2 separate regions of the Homo sapiens genome follow, and region 1 is linked to region 2. The links are contacts of gene promoters, found by promoter capture Hi-C in blood cells and fetal thymus (Javierre and others, 2016). All regions are on one chromosome and are shown on one strand. The core of a region is centred on a gene start or on the middle of the fragment in contact, and the rest is flanking DNA. Distances in the headings are between cores, read along the strand shown. Region 1 overlaps OGFRL1 (opioid growth factor receptor like 1). Region 2 holds the start of LMBRD1 (LMBR1 domain containing 1).

Region 1 (6,957 bases), core at 4,017-6,516, 1.5 Mb before region 2:
GCCAGCATTCATAAATAATTCAACTATGATTAGTTTAAATGTAACTATAATTAGTTAAAATTTAACTATAATTAAAAAGAAAATAGACAGTGAATATGAAGAAAATATCAAGAAAAATAAACTTTGGTTATGAGTATTAACAAAAGTTATAAACATCCAACCAAATGAATACAGCAAAACAATTCCAAATAAACTATGTTAAAATGTTCTTCATAAGTTTTGGGACTTATTACCCAAAAATGAGTTTTTGTTTTTTACCTTAATAGTGAAGACAAGTGTAATTTTCTCTCTCTTTTAGTAAAAACTATGGGCCCATCTCATTCTTATAAAATGATTTTTATACATCATAGGCTTAATGCATGAATTTAATCTTAAGAAGGCATTATGCTTAGAAACAGATTGTGCCCCAAGAAGCTTACAGCCTACAAGAAGGAATACACAGAATTGTACACAAGCAATAACAATAAACTCAAAGAAATGTGGCATAAGGAGGAGGGAGAGAAGCAACATTTGGCTGTGGGCAATAGGAAGGTTTCAGGGAGAAACAGGTCTGAAGCTGAATAGCTGTGTTTCTACCTAGAATTTTGTTCCTTTTTGTTGTTGTTTTGTTTTGTTTTAGAATGTGGTACAGGAATGTAATGCATTTCAGACTAGCTTTTTAATCCAAATTCCTGGGCCCATCTCATCTGCTAGTTGTTCCTGCGTTTCATAGAGAACTCTGACCAAGGGAAAATAACTGTGCTGGCCCCTGATTTATCACAGGGGCTTTACTTACTCATTCAGATGCTGAAATCTTTCCTGCCAGTTAACAGCCCGAGCAACATTTCCAGTTTTATCAGTCAGTTTTATTCCAAAAAATTCTAGCATCATTTTATAAGCCAGGAGGAATCTTCTAATTGCTTCTTTTGTTTTTTTGAATTCCTAATATAAAAAATGAAAAAAGTCACCTGAAATGATTCAGTAGCTACAAGGACAGTGAAATAGCAATATTATTTGGCCACCCTGTATAAAATGAAATGAGCTTGCATTACCTCAATTTCATATGTAGTTAGTTCTTTGGCATAGAAGTTCAAGCCTTGTTCTCTCAGGGGGAAAAGCCTATTTATTTTAAAAAAATAAAATTTTTCTATTAACGTTGTCTGGAAAACATACATGATTAAATAGGACATGGTTCAAGATAGATAATATGTAACTGACCATTGAATGTAAGTGTGGTTGTGCTCCAGTTTTTCATAATCTCCTTTCCATTTACTTAGAACTTCTTCAATGTAAACACCTAAATAGTAAATATTTAAAAATGAACCAGACATTTCAAACATTGTGAAGGCATTTTAAGATTCGAATCACTTGAGTTTTATATGAAAACTTGTTTAAATTTAATAATAGCACACAAGAATAGTGCTTTTAAAAAGATGAATACCCTATGCCCATATATTCGGTTATGTGATAAATCTAATTAAAAAAAATTAATAGCACCTCAAATTGCACAAGGCTTTGTTGGACAATGTACTCTAAAGCAGAGCTTGGCAAACTGTGGCCTGCCAGCTGTTTTTTAAATAAAGTTTTATTGGAATATAGCTATGCACATTCATTTATGTACTGTCTATGGCAGTTTTTGTACTACAGTAGCAGAGCTGTGTAGTTGCAATACAGACCCACTGTCCCCCAAAGCCCAAAATATTTACTATTTGCCCCTGTATAGAAAGTTTGCCAATCCCAGTCCTAGGAGTTATATAGTTCTTTAAATGCTAAATTGGATCAAAATGAATTGCATCCTAGGGAAAAAGAAAGAAAGGGGAGTAGAAATAGAAGAAAAGAAATGAGAAGGAGAAAACAAAGGAGAAGGAAAACGAGAAAAGAAAAATGTAGGAAAAAGTTGTAAGTGCTTACTACATGCTGTGCCCATATTACACAGAGCGCACATTTTCCAGCTTAGTCTTCACAGAATGCTGCCAGTGTTATGATCCTCATTTTAACAATGAAGAAACTGGGAGATTTGTTCAAAGTTACACACTAGTAAAAAAGTAAATCTTGAGTGCAACATAGGTCTTTCTGGTTCCAAGAAGTAAGCCCTTTTCACCCTGTCCACTTTTCCTCTACAAGAACTTACAAAAACAAAATCCTCCTGTTCCTAAGTCTGTCAAGGTCCTTACAATTGACTAGCCATTTAGTCAATGTTGTAGAAAATAAAATAGCAATATAATATTTCTCCGAACATAACTCATCTCATTCTTGTTTCCTCCAGAGATCACCAGTTTGTAGTAGAGGCCCACTCTCGGAAGGTTTGGTAAAAAGTTGTTTTGAATCATAATGTTGGCTTTATTGGCATGTTGAAACCATTTACCTCTGTAATTTTCCATTTGTTTTCCTTTCCAACTACCACTCCTCCTGCCTGATAAATAAATACCATTGCAAGATTATGCTTACTGGCAAGTAGTGTGTGTGTGCGTGTGTGCGTGTGTGTGTATACTAGGGAGGAAAGTGAGTTGATATAATTTGTATAATAAACTAGGATAAACATTTTATCTGACCTTAGCTAAAACTTCTGACCCCCACCAATCATAAGATTTCAAAATAAACTTTGTAGTAAAGATTACCAAAAATTCAATATATTGCTTGAAATTACTTTTTAAATTAATATTTACAAAATAAATTCCCTAGTAGAAAAAAATAGAGTTAAATACTATCATAGCTTTATGTTTAATATTTTTAATATGTGAAGGCATTCCTTTAGGAAAATTGTATGAAATTCAAATCAGACTCAAATTAACAATCTATCATTGCATTTCTTCAAAATATTTTTCTACCCCAAGTCCTAACAAAATGAATAATTTGGCCAATATTTTTCCATTAGTAAATAAAGCAGCACATTTCTATCATTAGTAAATATAACTGTGCAATTTTATCCAGAGGTTTCATTCCACATCACAGCAGACTTTCAGGACACCAGAAAGTTAAAGACAAGTAGATCTGGCCACGTCAACGATGTTCTCAAATATTAACTCCCAACTGGTAGGTCTGTTGGTACACAGTACTGGGACTCCCTCCTCCCAAACTCAATCCAGGCTTTAGACCTCTTGCCTCGAGTTAGTTCACCAAAGAATGCAAGGTCCTGCCACTTGAAAGCCTTGCAGTCTATCTCCTTCCTTCTGTGACTCACACTGCTGTGGAACTGGCTCAGTTTCCACTGAGAGCAAATAGCAGAAGCCAGGGCAGTCTGACCACCTCACACAGAAAAGGGCTCTTGGGAGAGAAGCCAGCTTTCCTAGGGTGACCTGGATAAAATTAGGATGACCACCATGAACCACAGCATGATGCCTCAATGAAATATGCAATGTTGTGGTCATATTACCATAGCAGCTGCATCTTCTCACTATGGGTTTGGAAAATATCCTAGGAGGGCAATTGCAGAGTTGGGAAGGAGACAAGTGTATTTGGCAGAGTTGGATGGAGATCTACTGTATCTGCAGTTCCCTTCCCAGAATATTGGAACTCCAAACAGGGATTGCTGTAGATTGCTGATACTGAATCTGAAAACTGACAGGAAAGATAATTCTAAATACAAACAGCACTTTTCAATCACATGCTAAATAGTTTTCAGCTATGGCACAATGGAAAGAACAGTGGACTCTAGAACCTGCAATCGAGTGACCTAAGCTTTAAGTCCTAGTGACCTAATCTTTGAGATGAGAAAGCTGAATTTGATCTTCTCTACTGTTCCTTAATAACCTAAAATTCTATGGTTCTATACATCTCCTCTCTCTTCCTGTCACAAAAATTGTCCCTACTATCTTTCAGATAATAGCAATGTAAATAAGAAAGATACCATTAATCCATAGCTCTTCCTCCAGAATTTACCAAGGGGACACATTAGACTGCATAGCAAAGTAAATCCAATCAATGAAACAAACCACAAAATAAAGAATAACCAAGTGTATGTGATTATTTAAAGTGCAATTTATCAAGTAGTACGTTACTCACCATCTGGCTTGAATGGAATTTTATTCTTATAAAAACGAAGATTGCTCAAGTCATTTTGATATCGGATATCTTTGAAGTTCTGCTAAAGGAAAAAATAAATCAATCTCCAGCACATAGAAATACAGTAAAGATACAAGGACCCTTCATGCATGTTTTCTCAGTGGCACCATAAAAATTTAAAAACAGAAGGAAAATAGTTTACAGTTTAAAACATAGCATTCTATACTCTTACTGGGTACTGGTGTCGGTACTTGTACAAATCCCTGGCAGCATAAAAACTTCTCTTTGGTTTGGCAGTTGCTTCAGTGGAATCACCACCCTGAAATAAAAGGTGAAACTCCGTTTACATGTTGACGCAAGATAATTTCACAAAGAAATTTCCAGAACAAACTTAAGGAAGATCCATAAAGAAAGCCTGAAAATTGTCAATCTGTCCAGATTAATGAAAATATTATAAATATTCCTTTAATAACGCTTACTAGCAATATTTCTTAGCATCCTATTTTTCTTATTTGAACCAATAACATTTGTCCTAAGATATATTACTGAATAAAACACTTTATTATTAACCAAAAACCTAAGAGGCCAATGTTATGGATCAATATCCATCAAAAATGGAACTCAAAAAGGAATTCAAGACATTTATTTACCAGATGATTATGCAAGTGATTCTATGATAAAACTTATTTTAGAATATTTTACATAATACTAAGAATGTGTTAAGTTACTAAATCAATTCTACAAAGAAAATTGTCATTAAATTTGCAACATTTAGCTGTACTTGGAAGTCAAGTAATATTTATGAAAAGAAAGGATTTTAAAACAAACTAGCTTTCTAAACTCCATCCTTTATAATACCATGACAAGTACACAAAGGCATGAATAATCATCTGTTCACTGAATGATAATACAATGTGATATAAACATTTAAAATATATACACACAAAGCAATAAAATGCTCTTAAATGGAATGGTGTCCAATTGAAACAACTTATACATGGTAGTTTACTCATACTGTTCAAACTCTTAAGTAAAATTCCTATCACCATGAACTGATTTTTAAAGTATAAGATGTGGGTTAAAATAATCGATTTGCATTCCCTATATGTACTATTATAATGTATGAGAAAGTGCTGATGACAATCATGAAAAAGAAAAACTTTAGACCTTTAAGAGTCATTAAAAGCTTTGCCCCAAATTCTTTTCTCCTCAACCCCTGTCCTCCATCTGTGTTGACAGATTGGCATCCTCTAAGTAATTTTCACACATTTTTGAAGTGGTGTGATTCTCACTATTACTACAAGTACCGAGTTACTTCAACATCAAATCTTCTGATGCTTAACATTAGTTACGCTGTCATGTTACATAAGCAAGGAAAAGCTTGAATTCTGGTCCTTGCCACACGTTTCAAAATAGCTCTGCCTAGCAAGTTTCTGAATCTATTTAGCCTGAGATACAACCATATGAATCATCATCCTACATTTGTATAGAAGGCACTCTCCATTTACAAAGCACTTACATATATAGCGAATAGACAACAAACAGGGTTGACAGTCAAAAGGCATTATTTCATTTGATTCTTAAAACACACCTGATTGACAGTTAATAAGTGTTTCCATCTTAGAAACAAGATATCAGGGGCTTAGAGAAGTTGCACACCACCCAGAGTCCAGTGACAGTGCAAGAACAAGAATCCCAGGCTCTGGGTCCCAAGTCCAGGTCTGAATCAATCTCAGTCACACTAAAAAATGAAGGATATATGGAAACCTTGGTGTAGTATCAGTAGCCCAAGACTTGGAGTCAGAAGACTAGCAATCTGAACGCTGCTTACTTGTATTTGTGAGGCCTTAAGCAAATCATTTAGCTGAATCTTAGTTTTATCATCTCTGAAATAAAGATAATGACTCAAGCCCTACCTATTTCTCAGGATTATCATAAGAATGTCTGTGTCCTGCCAGCATCTGCTCCTGCTCTTCCAACCCCTATTCCCTTTGGACTCTCTACCCAGACCCCTTTCACCTGCTCAGACAAGGATTCTGTTGTTCAATATTGTTCCTCTTTCCTGGATCATCAAAATTTCCCTCTCTTCTCGATCTCAAACAAACATGCTGTAGTATCTTTAATCTTAAAATAAACATACAAAACATTCCTTGACCCAGGCCTACCATCAATTACAGATCCATATATCTACTCCTTTTTTATAGCAAATCACCACCAAAGAATTGCCCATACTTTGTTTCCTTCTTTTCTTTCCCCATTTTCCCCTGACCCACCTCAATCAGGCTTTTGTCCTCAGCACTCCAACAAAATAGTTCTTGTGAACTTCACCAATAAGTCTCCATCTTGCCAAACCATTTCTTAATGTTCACCTCAGGTGACCTCCCAACAGAACTGGGCCAATTAAAGCATCCCTCCTTCCTGAAACACTGTCAGTATTTGGCTTACAGGCTACTATAACTTTCTTAGTTTACTTTCTGTCTCATTGGGCTCCCCTTGTCAGCCTCCTTTTTTGGCTCCTCCTCCTCTTCATACCCTCTAAATGGAGGGGTGCCTAAGGTCCTCAGTCGTCATCACTCCTTGATAACCCCTTATCTTCCCATGCCTTTAAATACCATTGATCTCAGATGCTGAGGACTCTAGTCCTGGACTGTCTCCATTCATAGATGTAATTTAACTACCCAACAAATGATTAACTACCCAACAACTCTACTTGGATGTGTAATAGGATATCAAACTCAAGAGAATCGTTGATTTAACCTCCATAGCTGCATTCTCCCTAGACTTCCCTGTCTTGGTTAATGTCACCATCATTTGTTCAGTATTCAGAGGGACTAGGATGATGCAATGGAAGTGGTGTGAAGGAGTCAGTCTGGGATACGCTTTAAAAGTAGCTCCAGTATTACCTGCAAGTGGATTGACTCTGAGGAATAGACAACAAATAGGGTTGGCAGTCAAAAGGCAAAATTGAAAAGCAGA
Region 2 (6,863 bases), core at 701-3,200:
GCTGGAAAACATCATTCTCAGCAAACTATTGCAAGGACAGAAAACCAAACACCACATGTTCTCACTCATAGGTGGGAATTGAACAATGAGAACACTTGGACACAGGAAGGGGAACATCACACACTGGGCCCTGTTGTAGGGTGGGGGAAAGTGGGGAGGGATAGCATTAGGAGATATACCTGATGTAAGACTAGTTAATGGGTGCAGCACCTCAACATGGCACATGTATGCATATGTAACAAATCTGCACGTTGTGCACATGTACCCTAGAACTTAAAGTATAATAATAATAATAATAATAATAATAATAATAATAAAAGAGTGTGCCTGGTTATGTCGTTATCTGGTTGGGTGCAGTCTCTATTGATTAGGTGAACATCTGGTCCCTTTTGGCATGATTCCTTTTGAAATGTAAACAGAATCTTTTTCTAAGAAGTAGTTACTTATGTCAAGGGTGCTCTATACAATCTGGAATAGAGATATCAACCTGGAAGCGATACCTCTCTTCACTTTAAGGAAGCTATGACAGAGGTCTCCAGGGATATGAATTATTAGGAAGAAAGAGTGAAATTCAAACATTTGCAGGTCTAGAGGGCTTAAAGCCAGCTTATGATGGTACCAGTTCAAGTTAAAACTGTATTCTCCCCTATTCCCTTCTTATTCTGTCCAGGCAGGAAGGACCATCCTATTTTTTCCCTCAGGCTTCCAGCCGGAAGTAGATTATAGGTAGAGCATAACTCATCACCACATAATACATTGGAAAAAGATGATGGTATTTTTTCTCAGAGTTGTTTCTTGACTACATCACAGTGGTGAAACATGCACTCACACCCCTGTGGACTCAGGTAAGCCATCCCAAGAGTTTCCTCCCTGTGGACTCAGGTAAGCCATCCCAAGAGTTTCCTCCTTCTTCTTCATTGTGGGCCTATGGCAGTGTGTTTTGTTTGCTGATGCATATACCTTTACATACAAAGCTATCATGGAAATTCACAGGCATGCATACATCTGAATAGAAAGGCTATAACATCATGTGATAAGTTCATGTCCAGCCAACCAGTTATCCCGGCTGGGCACCAGTGCCAGTAAATTAGAGTGATTTGGGCAGCTAGTCAACTTTTATTCAGAGTCAGCTGTCTCATGCGTCCGTGTGAAGAGACCACCAAACAGGCTTTGTGTGAGCAACATGGCTGTTTATTTCACATGGGTGCAGGCGGGCTGAGTCCGAAAAGAGAGTCGGCAAAGGGTGGTGGGATTATCATTGGTTCTTACAGTTTTTCGGATAGGAGGTGGAGTGAAGAGCAATGTTTTGGGGGTAGGGGGTAGATCTCACAAAGTACATTCTCAAGGGTGGGGAGAATTACAAAGAAACTTCTTAAGGGTGGGGGAGATTATAAAGAACATTGATCAGTTAGGGTGGGGCAGAAACAAATCACAATGGTGGAATGTCATCAGCTAAGCTATTTTCACTTCTGTGGATCTTCAGTTGCTTCAGGCCAGCTGGATGTATACGTGAAGGTCACTGGGGATATGATGGCTTAGCTTGGGCTCAGAGGCCTGACATCAGCCATTCTTGCAACCTGGTAAGGAGTTCTGCTAATCACACACATTCCACCTTGTACACGAGGGCCAAACTTCCTTTTGGTGAAGAAGTATAAACCTCTAAAATTGACTTGGATCTCCAGGTCCACCTAGCCCATTCTTTGTGGAGTTCCCTTGCTGTTCTAGTCTATCAACTTAGGCTGAGTCAAATATCTCAATAGGTTGCCCAGCTATGAGCCAACACCCTGCTCTGCAGCCCTCCCACATCTCAGCTTGCAGGGAAGCCAGCGAGGGCAGCGTGGTGATGTCACTGCGTCCGCACGCGCCCCGCCCCTGAGCAGTCCTTGCTGCCCCGCCCCCGCTCGGCTCGCCGCCAGGGGACGCTAGTGGGTCCAGTCTCCTTGGCAACCACTTGCTCCTCCCCCTCCGCCCCTTTAACCTTTAGGGTGCGCGGGTGCAGTATATCTCGCGCTCTCTCCCCTTTCCCCCTCCCCTTTCCCCACCCCGGGCGCTCAGGTTGGTCTGGACCGGAAGCGAAGATGGCGACTTCTGGCGCGGCCTCGGCGGAGCTGGTGATCGGCTGGTGCATATTCGGCCTCTTACTACTGGTAGGGGAGGCGCTTGGAGTTTTCCCCATGTTTGGACTGGGGGAGGAAGGGAGGGGCAGGCCCTGCAGTTGGCCTCTCCGGGCCCCGGAGACCCTCTTCGCCCCGCCCCGCTTTTAGCTTGGACTGTGGAGGGCTCCTTAGTGTTGGGGGCTTGGGCGGGCGGCGGGGGCAGGGGGGTGTCGATTTCCGGTCTCTTTTGCTGTCATTTCACCGATGACGTCTAGGGTTGCAGGGTCCTTTTTGGAAGCTCTTGCCGTCATCGCTGACTTGGGCAATGGGGCCGGTGGGGTTTGGGGGCGGAAGAGACCCTCGGGGTTGAGAAGTATGTGGTGGCCTTTCGTCCCCTGTAAAACATTGTCACACGGTGTGGGGCGGCAGCGCTGGATCTTTGCAAGTTAAGTAGGCGCTGGCGTTGTTTACTTGTCACCTTCTCTGTATGTTTTTTCCCTCATTTTCCCTACCCTTGGGGCTAGTGAGTCTCCAACCTCTGTGCCCATTGTGTGATTCTGCCTTGATGACGTGAGTTGCTCGTTCTGACTTCCAGGTGTCACATTCTCTTCTAATCTTTTTTTGATTGGTGTAGATACCTGTGGAGGGCGGAGCTGTAGCCCTCTTTATTACCAGTATCGGAGTATATACTACTACCTGTCTGACCTCAGGTGCTTTCTTTTCCAACGATCTTATTTCTGCATATTCAGTGAGCAAAGTGTAGATAGAAATGTCTCAGAGTGGCCTGGCTATTACTTCCCTGTTCATATTAAAACCCTTTGGTTTATTTGGGAGTTCAATTTATTTCCTTTCATAACTTCTCTACCTTCTCAAATCTTCTCTTTTCTCATCGTCCGAGGCTGTAGTTACTTTCTGTTCTCACGTATTTTGACCTTTTTGCATTGCAAAACAAAAACCTCCAGTTCTGGAAATCAGGCTTGTTTGGTTTTACTTTAATTGTCAGATCCAGTTGGTGTCTGGTACCTATGTAGTATGTTCTAGTAGATTTTTGCAGTAGAGACTAAAAAAAGAAAATAAAAGAAAAGAATGGTGTGAAAATTTAAGAAAAGGATCCTCTTGTTACTGCCATCACTGTCACAGATAAAAACACTGCCTTTACCCTGGAACATGTTAGTCCTCTCTTGGAGGAAATGAAACCCTAAAGGTTGACTGTGGTCTCTGCAGCCACCCAGTCCTGTATTTGGAGAGCCCCCTGGCTTTTCCAGTCCATCAGATTTAGTTTGTTTAGAAAAAAATAAATAAGCATGTAATGTATGAAAGTTACGTGAGACTATCTTGGCAGTTATAAATTAATAAACATTTACGGTACAGAAGTGGTGTGAATTGTAAGAGGATGTAAACCAAACAAAATACGGCTTTAAAGAGGGCCTGAAGATAAGTGAGAAAACTGAAATTCTTGAAACATGTATTTTATGGACCGAAAGCCAAAGTGTGACTATAAATAAAGCAGGACTTAAGAGAATAGACAACAATATTGGAAGAAAATGAGAATTGTGGTAGAGTTTGGATAGATGAAGAAGAGAGGCCATTTAAGTTGGCAATATTACAGCAAGGACAAATAAAATCAGAATTGAATGTTGTCGTGGATAAAAGCATTAGGAAGAAGGACTTTTGTTTAAATTTCTGCAAATCTCTTTAAATCCTGGTTTATTAGAAGAAAGGCTGGTTTCTTTTGTTGCCTTCTACATTCAGTCTTTTGGGGTATGTTATTTTAGTCGAAGTGTATGGAGAAAATACAGCTGCAATGATAGGTAGTCAGAAACAGAGGAGCGTTTTTCAGATAATTGTGGATGTTTTTTGACACTACACCAAAGCTCAACAAGTGGAAGATTCATGTCAGCTGCAAGGTGGAATCTGAAACCCTATCAATGAGCATTTCATTCATTGTTACATTAAAATCCATTAGCCCATCTTGCACTTTGAAAGGCTCTTTTACCCATGCATGGTTTTATAACATGATGCCATGGCCACTTAGAAAATGTTGGTTTACTGAGTTATGCACATCTTTTAAATATGGATACGTTTCATTACACAATATCAAAATATCACATTTCATTAAATTACAACTGATCTTGTCAGAAATGTCTCTGAAAATTCTAAGTATTGAAGAGTTGTCAAGCTCATACTTGTGGATGTAAGTCTTTCAAAATCCAATTTTCATTTGAAAGTTTGACTCATAATTATCATTGGTATCAAATACTGTCAGTTTTTCTTTAAGTGATAGATTCCCTTTGTTCATTTGACAAAATCTGCCAAAAAGCGAAGTCTGAATAACCAGTTTGACAATTGTTCTTTCAAGTAAAAATGGTGTTCCTTGAAGAGTGGTTGGTTTAGCTTTTAACTCTAAACTTTTCCTGGAGATAGCCATCACATCTTGGTATGCAGCAGGACTTTATGTACGCATGCTTCATATTTTACCCCACAAAGTATTAAAAAGAGTCAAGGGTTGAATTTCAATAAAATGAATTTATGCTGCTTTGTGAAGCACAGTCTTAATTTAAATTGTCCCTTTTTGAACTTGTGGTGAAGAATACAATGATTACTGGTGCAGTTTGGTGCCACTGTCTTGATTCACGCTAATGCACCAGTAGTTTTACCCACTGTGGCTATGAACCATGAGTGCAAATGTCAGCACAGTGAAAAAGGCAAATAGCATCTTAGTATTTATTATGAGAATAGTTTTCAACTTCTGAATCTCCAGAAAGGATTCTGGGGACTACCAGGGCCTAGGGATTTCACACTTGGAGAACTTCTGCCAATCATCTACTAAATATTCAGGACATGGGCCAGGTGTGGTGGCTCACACCTGTAATCCCAGCACTTTGGGAGGCTGAGGCAGGTGGATCAGTTGAGCTCAGGAGTTGAGACCAGCCTGGGCAGCATGGCAAAGCCCCATTCCTACTAAAAATACAAAAAATTAGCCGGGCGAGGTGGCAAATGCCTGAGGTTCCAGCTACTCAGAAGGCTGAGGTGGGAGGATTGCTTGAGCCCAGGAGGTGGTTTGTGGAGGCAGTTGCAGCAAGCTCTGATAGTGCCTGGGCAACAGAGGGAAACTTCGTCTCAAAAAAAAAAAAAAAAAAAAAAAGATTCAGGACATGAATGTTGCCTACTTTTGTGATCGTGGGCAAAAAGAATGGACTTCAGTTTCTTCACACATAAGGAATTGTTAGATTTGGTATCTCATGCCTGTAATCTAACTATGTCTGTCTTTACTATATCAAATCTAAACTGTTCTATCTAGCTTCAATGTCCTCTGTAATTTGGCTCACACCACCTTTAAATTGTATTTGCCATTACAATAGGAGACTCTCCATTTTTGTAAAGCAAATTTATTCTTGTTCCTTAAAGTGTGGGCATCATCTGGGAACTTGTTAGAAATACCAAATATGTGACCCCAGTCCTACTGAATCAGATCTGCAGTTTAACAAGATCCCATACAGTATGTCATCTATTCTCATTAGTTTAATGAAGATTCATCTCTTCTCATTCCTTCTTCTGCCCCAGTGGTTTGCAAACTTGACCTTTCATCAGAACCACCTGGGGAGTTTTAAAAATCTCAGTGTTCAGACCAATTTATTTTGAATCTTTTGGGAGAAGCTGGGGGGACTATTTGAAACTTTTCTTTATAATTGTTAACAGAGTTATATATTTGTTTCTTTTATCAAATTATCTAATAACTACTACTGTTTGTTAAGCAGTTACTATGGCCAGCCACTATGGTAAACCCTTTATATCTCATTTAATCCTTATAACTTGTTATGAAAGAAGTATTCCTATAGACGAGGATACTTGGTTTTATTTTATATTGTAGTAATGATTGATAACATGAACAAAAAGCTCTTTAAGGTTATCAGTTTTAAAACCATTATAAAGGGATTCTGAGACCAAAAAGTTTGGGAATCTCTGGCTTAACTCTTCTGCCTGGTTGCCGTTTCCTAGCTTGTCTGCCTGATATTGGCAAAATCCTTTGTTTGCAGTAATACCTACAAAATGCAGGTTTTCTTTCATTCTTGAAATCCAATAAAAAATTTATTGGAACACTTTGTGTCAAGTACTGCTGAGGATATAAAGATGAGACTCAGCTTTCAAAGACTTCAGAATGAATTTGGGGAATGTTAAAAATATTTATGAATTCCTTTAAAAACAAGCTCATTCAAATATTAATACAAAGTCACATTTTATGAAAAATAAATTTCCCAAAATCAAGAATTTGAGCCTAGATCCTTTTTGTTTGTTTGTTCCAAAGTCTTAACTCCCTTCTCAGTCAATTCTTTCCTGCTATTCTGTCACCAGTTGAAAGGCCAGCAGTATGAAGCAATGACATGCAGCAACTTGGATGGGTTTTAAATGCACTGTGCCAAATGACACTAGCCAGACTGAAAAGACAACATACTATATGAAGGCATTATGATATTCTAGAAAAGGCAGAAACTATAGGGGCAGAAAACAGATAGTGGTTGTCAGGGTGATACTGGTGGGCTGAGGGAGATCCCCAAACACTGGTGGGATCTCAACCCCAGCTGGTTTTCAGGCTCTTGACACTGTCATGAGAAGACATTAAAGGGCAAGTCAGAAAATAGTGTAAGTGTGGAGATTTATTAAAGGGAAAAGTACACACTCGTGTGGGCATTCTTAAGAGAGAGACACACGGTGAGGTTTGGAGTTTCTACCTTTATGGGTTTCTTTATCCAAGGGACATATTCATGA

What was found. The method cuts DNA at HindIII sites, captures the fragments that hold promoters and counts their contacts. A CHiCAGO score of 5 or more calls a contact.
Region 1: a fragment that was not itself captured here is called in contact with the fragment with the promoter of LMBRD1 in region 2 in 1 of 17 cell types (total CD8 T cells); the score reaches 5.1 in total CD8 T cells.

What each region holds. Positions count from the first base shown.
Region 1 is chr6:71,290,636-71,297,592 of GRCh38, reverse strand. OGFRL1 (opioid growth factor receptor like 1) reads right to left here. Exons shown (of 7, transcript NM_024576.5): 2 at 4,214-4,300; 3 at 3,982-4,060; 4 at 1,198-1,276; 5 at 1,032-1,098; 6 at 776-921. The region is part of intron 3 of LOC124901339 (a long non-coding RNA gene); the gene reads left to right. Among named protein-coding and RNA genes, the nearest start is that of OGFRL1, 5.3 kb to the right of the region's middle. The HindIII fragment of the contact is 194 bases long and covers 5,170-5,363 here.
Region 2 is chr6:69,792,097-69,798,959 of GRCh38, reverse strand. It overlaps LMBRD1 (LMBR1 domain containing 1), which reads left to right and starts at 1,950. Exons shown (of 16, transcript NM_018368.4): 1 at 1,950-2,147. The coding sequence starts at 2,079. RefSeq lists enhancers at 2,029-2,258, 1,887-2,442, 2,569-2,618, 2,443-2,999. The HindIII fragment of the contact is 19,066 bases long and covers 1-6,863 here.